2 separate regions of the Homo sapiens genome follow, and region 2 is linked to region 1. The links are contacts of gene promoters, found by promoter capture Hi-C in human tissues and cell types (Jung and others, 2019). All regions are on one chromosome and are shown on one strand. Each heading gives the region's core, a stretch centred on a gene start or on the middle of the fragment in contact. The rest is flanking DNA. Distances are from core to core; before and after follow the strand shown.

Evidence for each region. Contacts are between HindIII fragments. The study calls those that stand out against the background at their distance.
Region 2: a contact is called between a fragment that was not itself captured here and the fragment with the promoter of PSMA1 in region 1, in 1 of the 25 tissues and cell types used here (ovary).

Annotation. Positions count from the first base shown.
Region 1 is chr11:14,517,964-14,524,079 of GRCh38, forward strand. PSMA1 (proteasome 20S subunit alpha 1) reads right to left here and starts at 2,423. Exons shown (of 10, transcript NM_002786.4): 1 at 2,334-2,423; 2 at 1,034-1,078; 3 at 1-18. The coding sequence starts at 2,336. RefSeq lists enhancers at 2,216-2,830, 2,365-2,554. The HindIII fragment of the contact is 15,381 bases long and covers 1-6,116 here.
Region 2 is chr11:14,303,419-14,309,180 of GRCh38, forward strand. The region is part of intron 1 of RRAS2 (RAS related 2); the gene reads right to left. Among named protein-coding and RNA genes, the nearest start is that of RRAS2, 53 kb to the right of the region's middle. RefSeq lists an enhancer at 5,549-5,678. The HindIII fragment of the contact is 7,740 bases long and covers 1-5,762 here.

The sequences.
Region 1 (6,116 bases), core at 1,173-3,672:
AATTTGATGAATCCTGCCCTAAAGAAAAAAAAAACAAAAAACACACATCTTAGAAGATCTTTTATAAATTAAAAATTAGGGTTTTCAAATATCAGGTGAGCACAGTTAAATCTCAACTGATTTTTTTTTTAATCAAGAGACCTTTTTTTTTTTTTGAGACAGGTTCTCACTCTGTCACCCAGGCTGGAGTGCAGTGGCACAATCTTCAGCTCAGTACAACCTCTGCCTCCTAGGCTCAAGCAGTCCTCTCACCTCACTGTCCACAGTAGCTGGGACTATAGGCAAGCACCACCACGCCCAGCTAATTTTTGTATTTCTTGTAGAGTCCGGGTTTCATGTTGTTCAGGGTGGTCTTGAACTCCAAGACTCAAGCAATCTACCTTCCTTGGCCTCCCAAAGTGCTGGGATTACAGGCATGAGCCACTGCACCCGGCTGAAAGCTTCTTTTAAAATAAATTTTCTTGTGTATATTTAACGTATGCAACATGATGTTATAAGATACACATATATAGTAGGGTCACTATCGCAGAATGAACACATCCGTTGTCTCACATAGTTACCCATTTTCCTCTGCTGTGGCAAGGGCTATAAACTACTCATTTAACAAAAATCTTGAATACAAAACACTACCTGCATTATTAACTGTAGTCTTCATGTTGTACATTAGATCTTTCCACTTGCTCAACCTACATATTTGCTACTTTGTATCTCCTCTTTTTTCCTCCCCACTGCCACCCCCTACCCTGGTAACCACTGTTTTACTCTCTCTATATATATATTTGCCCTTTTAAACAAAAGATTCCACATATAAGTGAGAGCATGAAACATTTTTCTTTCTGTTTCTGGCTTATTTCACTTAACATAATGTCCTCTAGGTCCATCAGGAAACCTATTTTAATTATAAATGCAACTTCCAAGAACGTCTAAAATAATTATATTCCATTTTCCCCAAGCCTACGCTCTCACAAGTTTCTAAATATATTGCAGCCACAAAAAGCCACTTCACAGAAAAGGTTTAAAAACATTATTTTACCTGGGGGCTCCAAACAGTGACATCATTGTCATACTGATTTCGAAACTAAAAGTAAAAGAAAAAAATACCTGTTAATAGAAGAACATTTCAAATCCCAACTCTTAACATTCATTAAGAAATATGCTTGTATTTCCATTCAATGTTAAGGCACTCTGTTCATGCAGTCTTACTGGAAGATTACTACTGTACTCAGATGTAAGCCAATTCTACATTTACCATAAACTCGTGGGAGAGGGAGAAGCAGATCTAAATGGGTCCTATTTTTCCAAACTCTTATTCTAACACCCTCCATATCAACCCCTTTAGGCTCAATTACTAAAGTTCACAATCAACTTTCTTGCCTATTTTTGCTTATGCTGCTCCCTTTTATTGGGCCCTAATAAATGGTTAAAAGTCTTCCTTTTCTTTAAGGTAGCTTAAATGTCGATTTCTTGAAGTCTTCTCCTTTTCTTCCCAAATCCCCCTAACATATACTCCCACAGCTCTTTATCTAAACGTCCCTTTCTGTTTTTATGATTAGGGACATGTATGACTTATTTTTTAATGTTCACTGTAGTTATGCCTGTACAAGTGCTGTCTGTATATTCACATTGAATGAACAAAAATGTCCTCACAAAGTTAGAGGTGGACACAAATAGCTGCAGCGATAGAACCATTACGGCTATTACGACTATTATAATAATAGTCATGGGAGTGAGATTGAGTGCTAGAATGGCAGACAGAACTGGAAACCCAGAACCCTATATTGTAACCCTGATTCCATCACTTCCCCTCTCAGCCTCGGCTTACTCATCCGCAACTAGGTGACTGGACAAAATGATTGAAAAGGGCCTCTTCTAATCGAAGTCTAGGCGAGAGATAAATAGACGGACCCACCAGGAAAACGGACGCTGTCCAGGAACACAAACCTGGGGGTCAAGTCCGCACTGGTGGTACAGGTAGGCCTCCAAGTCAAGTCTCTGTCTTCTCCTCTCCCATACACAGCACTAGGAGCTATTCTGGACCGCTCAGAATCTACTCCACTGAAGGAACCTGAGGGGCGAACTCATCTAGCTGACCGAGGAGGAAGTGTCGGAGGCTCCCCGGGAAGCGAAAGCGGTGGAAAGGCCGCACTGGCTACCGATAACCCCTAGCCCGGCCAGGCCGGAGATGCTGAATCACTGCCGGAGCCCGGCCGTCTGCCGAGGCTCTCATACCTCGTGGCACCGGGCGACGCTAAGGATGACAGGAGAGGTGGCTCGTCATCCCCCAGTCACCAGAGCTCTGCCCTAAACCTTCCAGAGATCGGGATTCAACGTACCATGGTGGCGGCGCGGGCCTGGTTGCGGCCTCCAGCAAAACTGAGAATCAAGGAGGTGCTGCCGAAAGTATCGCTCAGCGATCTACAGAGAAGTCTGCGGGAGTTTGACGGCGGCGGCGCAGGGTAGCGCAGTCTATTCCAGAGATATCGATAGGCTTGCAACACTTCCCCCTCCTTAAAACTTTCCGACCGCTCGGCGGCGGGCGGAGCCTCGGAAGATCTAGGAACTGAGACTGGCGGGAAAACCTGGCTGGGAGTGCCGGCGGCTGAGAGCTGCGGGGCAGCCCCTGTCACGTAGCCCTTCTAGGTTCCTGTGTATGGCGGATTCCCTCCAGTTTCTCCCGCTGGCGGGCTGCATCTAAAGTCGTCCGAGTCAACAGCCGTGACTCTGGGTGATACTAGCTCTCATTAACCGTCCACAGATTTGGGGTGTTATGTGACTGAAAGGAACGAGGCTGCAGGAAAGCCACAAGATAACGATCCGTTTCTGTGTGTCAGCTGTATTCTTCCTCGAGTATCTTGTTTGTGTACATGCTTTTATTTGCATTAAGGTTGGTGCAAAAGTAACTGCGGTTTTTGCCATTTGGCAAAATACTTTGGAATGCTCTTCCTTATTCCCTGGAGATGTTATCTTTCAAGGGTCTGTTGTCGTTAACCCCTCATTGTTATTATGATTGATTTCTTCCACCAGACTTTGAACTCCATGAGGGCGCTAATGTCTTTCTATGCCCCCAAAACCAAGCATGGTACCTGACAGATTAGGCCACTGAGAAAAAATGGACACTTTCTTTCGATTTATCTATTTCGTCTTTTGAGAGCATCTTTCCATAACGAAATAGTCTGACATCCACCGGCTATTTATATTCTTTGTAAAAAAGAGACTGGGTGTGGTGGCTCACGCCTGTAATCCCAGCGCTATTGGAGGCCGAGGGCGGAGGATCGCTTGAACCCAGGAGTTTGAGATCACTATATTATTTTAATACAGTGGGACCTCGTCGCTACAATAATAATAAGAATAAGAATAAGAATAAGAATAATAAAAAAAAAAGGCTGGGCATGTTGGCATGGGCCTGTGGTCCCAGCCACTCGGGAAGCTGATGTGGGAGGATCTCTTGAGCCAGGGAGATCGAGGTTGCAGTGAGCCATGGTCGCGCCGTTGCACTCCAGCCCGCCTGGGCAATAGAGATTCTGTTTCAAAAAAAAAAAAAGCCGGGCGCGGTGGCTCACGCTTGTAATCCCAACACTTTGGAAGGCAGAGGCGGGTGGATCACGAGGTCAGGAGATCGGACCATCCTGGCCAACATGGTAAAACCCCGTCTCTACTAAAAATACAAAAATTAGCCGGGCGTGGTGGCGTGCCTCAGGAGGCTGAGGCAGGAGAATCGCTTGAACCCGGGAGGCGGAGGTTGCAGTGAGCTGAGATCGTGCCACTGCACTCCAGCCTGGGCGACAGAGTGCGACTCCATCTCAAAAAAAAAAAAACAAAAAACAAAGTACTAAATTGTTCTCCAGAAATGTTTTACCAACATATACTCTCAACAGTAGTATATGAGGTTACCTTCTCTAATTCATCAACACTGGTTATTGTCGTATTTCTGAAAAACACTGTTGATTTGGTGGACTAAATTAACAGATTAAATTAATAGATTGTTCTCTTTCGTTTCTCCAGGACCTAGCACAATGCGTAGCACATATTAAGTGTTTATAAATAGTGCTAACTGATTAAATAAATGCTCATTTAAAAATTGTCATATACTACATAAACATTTTGAAAATTCTTTCCATATATATCTCTCTAGTCACATGCCTCACACAGATGTGTAATAAATATACAATTTTTAAAAATAAGATGATACTGTTTTTATTAATACACTTAAAAAGTTATAGCTATCATATGTCCATAAGTAATGGTCTATATTATTTTCAATAGTCGCATAGTATTTTATTGTATGGAAATATAATAATTTGCTTAATTATTAGTGTGCAATTCAATTGTTTCCAAGTTATTGGTATCATAAAAATACTATAATGAATATTCTTGTACATACACACCTATTGTGTGCATAATTACCTTACCTGATGAAGAATTCATAGAAGTAGAATTGTGGGGTCAAAGGGAACTTACATTTACAGTTATGATAAATATGGCTGAGTTGCAAAAAAAGTTATATCCATTTAATATTCTACGCTGCCTGAGAGTCAGTTTTCTCTGTATTCTTACCAACACTGGATATTATAAGTACTTTTTACTTTTATCAATTTGATAGGCCAAAAAAGAAAACCTGTTTCTTTAATTTTTAATTTTATTTATAGTTTTTTATTACTAGTAAAAAAATCTTTTGTTGTATTTCTTGGCTGTTTATGTTACTTTAGTGGATTGCCACTTCATTCCTTTCCTCATATTATTGTGTTAATCATTTTCTTACTGACTTGTAGGAGCTTCCTGTAATTAGGGATGGTAACCTCTTATTACTGTGTCACTTTTATAGAAAGGGCCTTTTGGATACAAATAAAAGAAACCCACTGAATCTAGTTTAAATAAAAGTTGAAGCACACATTGTAAATATGCAACAGGGAATCACATAAATATCCAAACATAATTTTTTGACTTTTTAAAAATTTACTGAGATATTCCTAGTACCTGAAACAAAGCCTGGCATATAGTAGGCACTCACTAAACATTTGTTGAATGAATGAGTGATAGATCTATCACTCCAAACCTGTCCTTCTGATAATTATTTCCTAAGCAAATATCTGGGGCTTTGCGATACATCCTTTATTCACAGCAATTGTCTGTACTCTTCAGAATGGCTGTTATCAAAGCTCTACTTGTAGACCAAAAGAAGGGGCATTTGGTTGACCTTTTTGTTAAGAATGAAAGTCCCAAGGGCTTATTAAAGGTTTATATGATTTTCAGCTCCTCTTTGTGTGTTTTGGGGATTTGGCTCAAGATACATCGTTAAAAACAACAACAACAACAACTTTTTTTTTAGAGACAGAGTCTAGCTGTGTAGCCCAGGCTAGAGTACAGTGGCATGATCATAGCTCACTGTAACCTTGAACTCCTGGGCTCAAGCCATCCTATTGCCTCAGCCTCCCAAGTAGCTAGGGCTACAGGTGCACACCACCATACCTGGCTAATTTTAAAATTTTTTGTAGAGACAGGGTCCTACTATGTTGCCCAGGCTGGTCATGAATGCCTGGCCTTAAAGTGATCCTCCCTCCTTGGCCTCCCAAAGTGCTGAAATTACAGGAGTGAGCCACCATACTCAGCTCCTCAGCTCTCAGGATACATTTTTTTTTTTTTTTTTTAAGACAGGGTATTTCTCTGTTGCCCAGGCTGGAGTGCAATGGCACAATCACTTCAGCCTGGACCTCCTGGGCCCAAGTGATCCTCCTACCTCAGCCTCCCAAGTAGCTGGGACTACAGGCAAGTACCCCCATGCCCAGATAATTTTATTTTTTTTGTAGAGACAAGGTCTTACTTTGTTGCCCAGGTTGGTCTCAAACTCCTGGACTCAAGCTATCCTCCTGCCTGGGCCTCCCAAAGTGCTGGGATTATAGGCATGAGCTACCATGCCCGGCCTCAAGATACATCTTGAGCATTAATCAGAAGCTGAAAAACTGATCAATAAAGATATTTTGTAGGAAGACTAGGTCAGCGAACATAGTACTACTTCTTTAAAGGTCATTGGAAGCCAGGCAAAGTGGCTCACACCTGTAATCCCGACACTTTTTTTTCTCCTGCTAATGCAGGAGAATTGCTTAGGGCCAGGAGTTACC
Region 2 (5,762 bases), core at 2,118-4,617, 210 kb before region 1:
TTTTTTAAAATCATTCTTTGACTATAAATATATTTAGGCCAAACACAACAGTTCATGCCTGTAATCCCAGCCCTTTGGGAGGCAGAGGCAGGAGGACTGCTTGAGCCCAGGAGTTTGAGACCGGCCTCAGCGACAGAGAGAGACCCCCATCTCCACAAAAAGGGGGGAAAAAAGTTTAAATATCCTTCAGCCCCAAGAACACCATAGTTTCAATAACTGTCTTAACTGCAGTAATCAATACTCATCTAAATTAAAGCTTCTCCCCTTCCTTGGTGGAGCTGAGAAGTCTAGTTGGGCTGGGGGATGTGAGGGGTCCTGTCATCATCTCTCTCTCCCTGCTCTGCATCTCTTCTACCCACAACAAGGCTGTCTCTGGCTCCTTCAGAGTGGGAACTGAAGCAGTGGGAAAAGCTATGGGGGTGTCAAAAGGCCACACCAATTAAGTGTGATGTTCATACCAACTTTTTCATGAGGGCCCTCCATACTCAATTCCCAGAACTTAAGTGAGACCTGGCCATTTACAACTCCAACCCTCCACCTCTGGGGTTTCCATGGGTACCTTCCTCCTGGTTCATGTCACCTTCTAGGTGGCCGAGCACAGTGTCCCTTTCTAGATGGCTTTAAGCTGGTTTCACCCAGCAGCCTGAGGAAACACTAACGTCTTTCTAAGTACAAAGTGCTAACATACAGCCCTCTCTGTGCTCTGCTGCCTCAGGGCTACTGATCCATAGATTTGTATACTAAACCTTTCATTCCCCAAACTCGAGGGGATACATGTCAAATTCTCAGAATGACTCCATTGGAGCCTCCCTCATCATTTGGCTTAAATGAAAGGGGCTTAAGGAGAAGCATCTTTCTCCTCTCCTCCACTACGTGTGGAAGCAGGAAAGGACACCAAACATACAACATACTAATAGCTCTTTCCAAAAACATTGTCTTAGAACCCTTAATAATCTCAACACTTTTATTCCCTAGAGGTAGGTATGGGCTACATGTGCAAAACCAGTTTAAGGCTACCCACTATGCAAGTTCTTGGAATATGAGGATAACTTGGCACCTACTGTTTTATTCTGTCTTTTGGGTTTCAAAAGAAGCTAAAATGAATTAGAGTTCCAGTTAAAATTGTGTTATATGTATGTCCCAGGACATATAAAACTCGATTTACATGCTCAAGGTTTTTAAAACTTTCCTGAAGCTAAGTAATATACTTGCACACAGATCTCAAAGTAGGGGAGGACTGCAGTGGGGAAAGAAGAATTAATTTCCCCAAGCACAATAAGGACCTAGTTAGCCATTGGTAGCCTCCATTTTCTAAAACAAGAGCAGAGCAAATTCCTCTGGTAACACTAGAGAAGACTGCAGCAACTTCAGGCAGCTGTGAGCCAGAGCTGGGCTCCTCCTTGTGTCACTTTTTAGCAGCAGCTGTCATGTCACAGAGAACCTTTGTTCCCTGCAACATCCTCCCTTATTTTTTTTGTCAAATGTTTCCAATATGCTTGATATTCCTTCACTGAAGTATAGCTTTTGACTGAAATTAGTATTTCATTTAATCTAACATGTACAATTATATATGTCTATAATTTAATCCCCAGAACTCTAATGCAGAATAATAAAAGCTACACTAAATCCAGTAATCCTTTTAGTTCCTTTTTAACAAAATTTAGTGAGGTCTTCAGTGTTGCCAGTTGTCTCAGACTGCCTAAAGCAACCATGTGCCTTCATTTGCCTTCCATACATTTTCAGCTAATATATATGTATTACCTCACATATAGTATTTAGTTGCAAATGAATGGGCCTGGTATGTGCCAGCAGAAAGTACAGTACAAAGTCAGCTTACAAACTGGTTCTATGACAAAAGTCTGTTTATAAGTTATTTGGAGTTTTTTCCTAAATTGCAGGTATATTCGGAGGCCAAACCACAAAAGCTACTACTGGATATGGCCCTGCCAGTATCAGCCCCAAGTTCCAACCTCCAAAGCACGGTAATTTTTCCTAAGAAGAAATGGGAAGAGAATTTCTTTTCCTTTTCCAGAGGACAGAGCCAGGCCTAAACAAAACTTGTATAGAGGGAAAGCTTGTCTTTGGGGTACCACTTGTATACCCCAGCCTTCTCAGCCTGACCTAACTCCCCACTCCAATAGCTTTCCCTGGGTTTAGCCTTCTTCTGAAAACATTCTAAGTACAAAAACACTGTATCTCTCTTCCCACTGTCCTCAAATTAAAACCCTCAAGAGATATTCCTTGAATTCCCAAATTAAAACCCACAGACACATTCCCACTAGCAGTGTTTGGGGGTTCCAATTTTTCAATATCCTCACCTAGACCTGTTATTAAACTCAGTCTTGGCCGTGCGCGATGGCTCACACCTGTAATCCCAATACTTTGGAAGGCTAAGGCAAGAGGATCACTTGAGCCCAGGAATTCGAGACCAGCTGGGCAACACAGTGAGACCCCCATCTCTACAAAATATTTAAAAATTAGTCAGATGTGGTGGTGCGTAACTGTAGTCCCAGCTATGTGAGAGGCTGAGGTAGGAGGATCACTTGAGCCCAGGAGTTAGAGGCTGCAGTGAGCTGCGACCGCACCACTGCATTCCAACCTGGGCTACAGACTGAGATCCTATCCCCCACCGCCGCCCCCACCCCAACAAAAAAAGAATTTTTTTTTTTACAACAGACACCCTACGGATGTAAAATAGTCTCTCACTGCAGTTTTAATGTGCATTTCCCTAGTGGGATGTTGAGTACCTTTTTGTGTGCTTATTGGCCATTTGTATATCTTCTTTGCAGAAATGGCTACTCAAATCGTTGCCCCTTATTAAATTTTATCTTATCATTGAATGTAAGAGTACTATATTCTGGATATAAATCCCTTATCAGAAATATGATTTACAAATATTTTTTCAATGGTTTTCATTCATTCCTTCATTTATAGAGATGTGATCCCACTATGTTGTCCAGGCTGGTGTCGAACTCTAGGCTTAAGGGATCCTGCCATCTCAGCCTCCTGAGTAGCTGGGACTACAGGCATGCATCACTGTGCCCAGATGATTTGCAAATATTTTCTCTCATAGCCCCCTTCTTATAAAGCCTTCCTGCCATAAGTGAGTACATAGTTCCTAAATCTCAACTGTGGGGCGAAGTCTTATTACCCACCAACAACTCTCCACAATTCCAATTCCACATACCCAGGATTTTGGGCAATACCTGCTCCTGAGCCATCAATCAGTTGTACTAGCCTCCCACTAGGTGGCTGTTCTACTGGGCTGACTGCTGATCTAGAATGAAACTTCCCTCACTGTAACTATCCCTCTAACACCCCATTCCCTACCCTGAGCTTTTCCTATCACACTGAGCTTCAGCCTATACCATGCCCTAGCATAGTTCACTTGTCCCAGTATGTGAATTTACCCTTTTTCATCAAATCTAAGATGACACTGATTGTAAGACCATCATTATTTTATGTGCCAAGATAAAAAAAAAAAAAAAAAGGCCGGGCGCAGTGGCTCACGCTTATAATCCTAGTACTTTGGAAGGCCAAGGTGGGTGGATCACTTGAGGTCAGGAGTTCAAGACCAGCCTGGGAAACATGGTGAAACCCAGTGTCTACCCAAAATACAAAAATTAGCAGGGCATGATGGCACATGCCTGTGGTCCTAGCTATGTGGGAAGTTGAAGTGGGAGGATCATGGGAGCTCGGGAAGTCAAGGCTGCAGTGAGCAGTGATTGTGCCACTGCACTCCAGCCTGGGTAACAGAGGAGACCCTGCCCCCTCCCCCAAACCAAAAAAAACAAAAAAAAACAAAAAACAACAACAACAAAAAAAAAGCAGAAAAAGGAAGAGGGAAAAAAAAACTGCTACCAATACACTCATGACATGCCTTTGACTATGAAGCATCTCAATTTCAGATATACTAAAATGTACGGGGGGAAATGTGATGAAATACAATAGTTCAAGACAACCGTATTGGTAAGGCTAGTTTTTGAGACAGAATATCTCATTTTGTCGCCCAGGCTGGAGAGCAGTGGTGCAATCTCGGCTCAATGCAACCTCCGTCTCTCCCTGGTTCAAGTGATTCTCCTGCCTCAGCCTCCCGAGAAGCTGGGATAACAGCGCCCACCATTTTACAGATGAGACCATTGAGGCTCAGCAGTTAAATAACCTGCCAAAGGTCACAAAGTGGAACTGGGATTCCAATCAGGTCTAACTCCAATGCAATACTCCTTCCATTATACTTTCTTTAACCTGCCATACTAACATAGCACATAGCCTGCGACAGTTTAAAAAAAAAAATCCTGGTACCCCTTAAAATAAGTGATTCATTATTTTTTTAAATTATAAACTGCTACTGCCAAATAGAAAAGTAAAGTCGTTTCATTAAAAATGGAAACGCCCCATTTGTAAGTTACGAGTAAAGGTGTAAGTAGGTCATTTTTTTTTAAATACACAAAGATACTGTTTGACCCAGCAATTTCAATTCCAGAAACTTATCCTGCCGATAGGTCTGCACATATAAGAAATGATATGTACAAGGTTGTTCATAGTGAAATGTCTTTAAAAGACTGGAAACACAATGTGCTTCAGCAAGGACAATGTCATTCAGCAAATGCCTGGTTAAATTACGAAAGGTTCATTCAATATGAATATAACCATTAAAAAAAGGAATGACTTCATGCATTAATATACAGCAATCTGCAAGATATGTTGTTAAATACCCACAGTTTATGTATTTGCTTTATGTGCACAAAATATCTCTGGAAAGATACACAAGAAACTGATTAACTTTACCTGTGGGTTTAACTGGGTTGCTAGGAGATATGGATGGAAGGAAAACAATTCTTGTAGCTTTCAAATTTGAAATACATGAATGAAAGAAGGAACCCAAGAGTTTCGAAAGACCTAGACAGATTAAACATAAACTCTTTAGTAATAAAAGCTAGATTCTAGTCCCAGCTATACAAACAACTAGCTCAGTGCTCCTAGATGAGTAAATCTCTTAAACCTCTTTCCTGGCTCTCACCTATAAATGAGGGGTTTGCCCTTCATGACCTCTTTAAGACTCTTTCCAGCTATATAATTTTATTATGACACGTTTAGCTCCTACAATATGCCAAATATAATTTATAGGTGCTATCGAGGACTTCCTTGTTTTAAATTTGTGGAATACAGCAAAATATCATATTTTAAAAGAGGAAGATTTGCTTGAAGCCCTACCTCTGCTACTTTATAGCTGTAGGATTTGCAGTAAGTCACTCCTCACTGACACCAAATTTAATTACTTGCAAAGCTGAGAGACACTTTCAAGAGTTTTTTACAAGGAGTAAAACGTGAACATTTTCTGTACTTTACAGCTCCACATGAAATGTGAACTACTGCACACAGACTCCCCCTTCAGGTGCTATGAAGTAAAGAGCATGTATTTTAGAGGCAGTCAGACCTACATACCCCGCTTAATTGCTGTATCATCTTGGGAAAGTTATTTAATCTCTTAAGTCTCAATTTCCTCACCTAAAAGATGATCATAATGATTCTTACTTGAAAGGGCTATTGTGAAGATTAAATGATATTGTTAAGTACTCAGTACACTGCTTAACTAAAACTGAGTATTCAAAAATTGGCTCTTTTCCTTTCCAAACTTAGAAATGGAAGGGTGCCCCATAAACAGGTAGGTAACCAACTCACTTCTAGTTGTAACTTTTGCTTCCCAGAGTCTAGACTGTTACTTCCATTTTCACTTCCTCTCCCCTCTATCCCGTTACCTA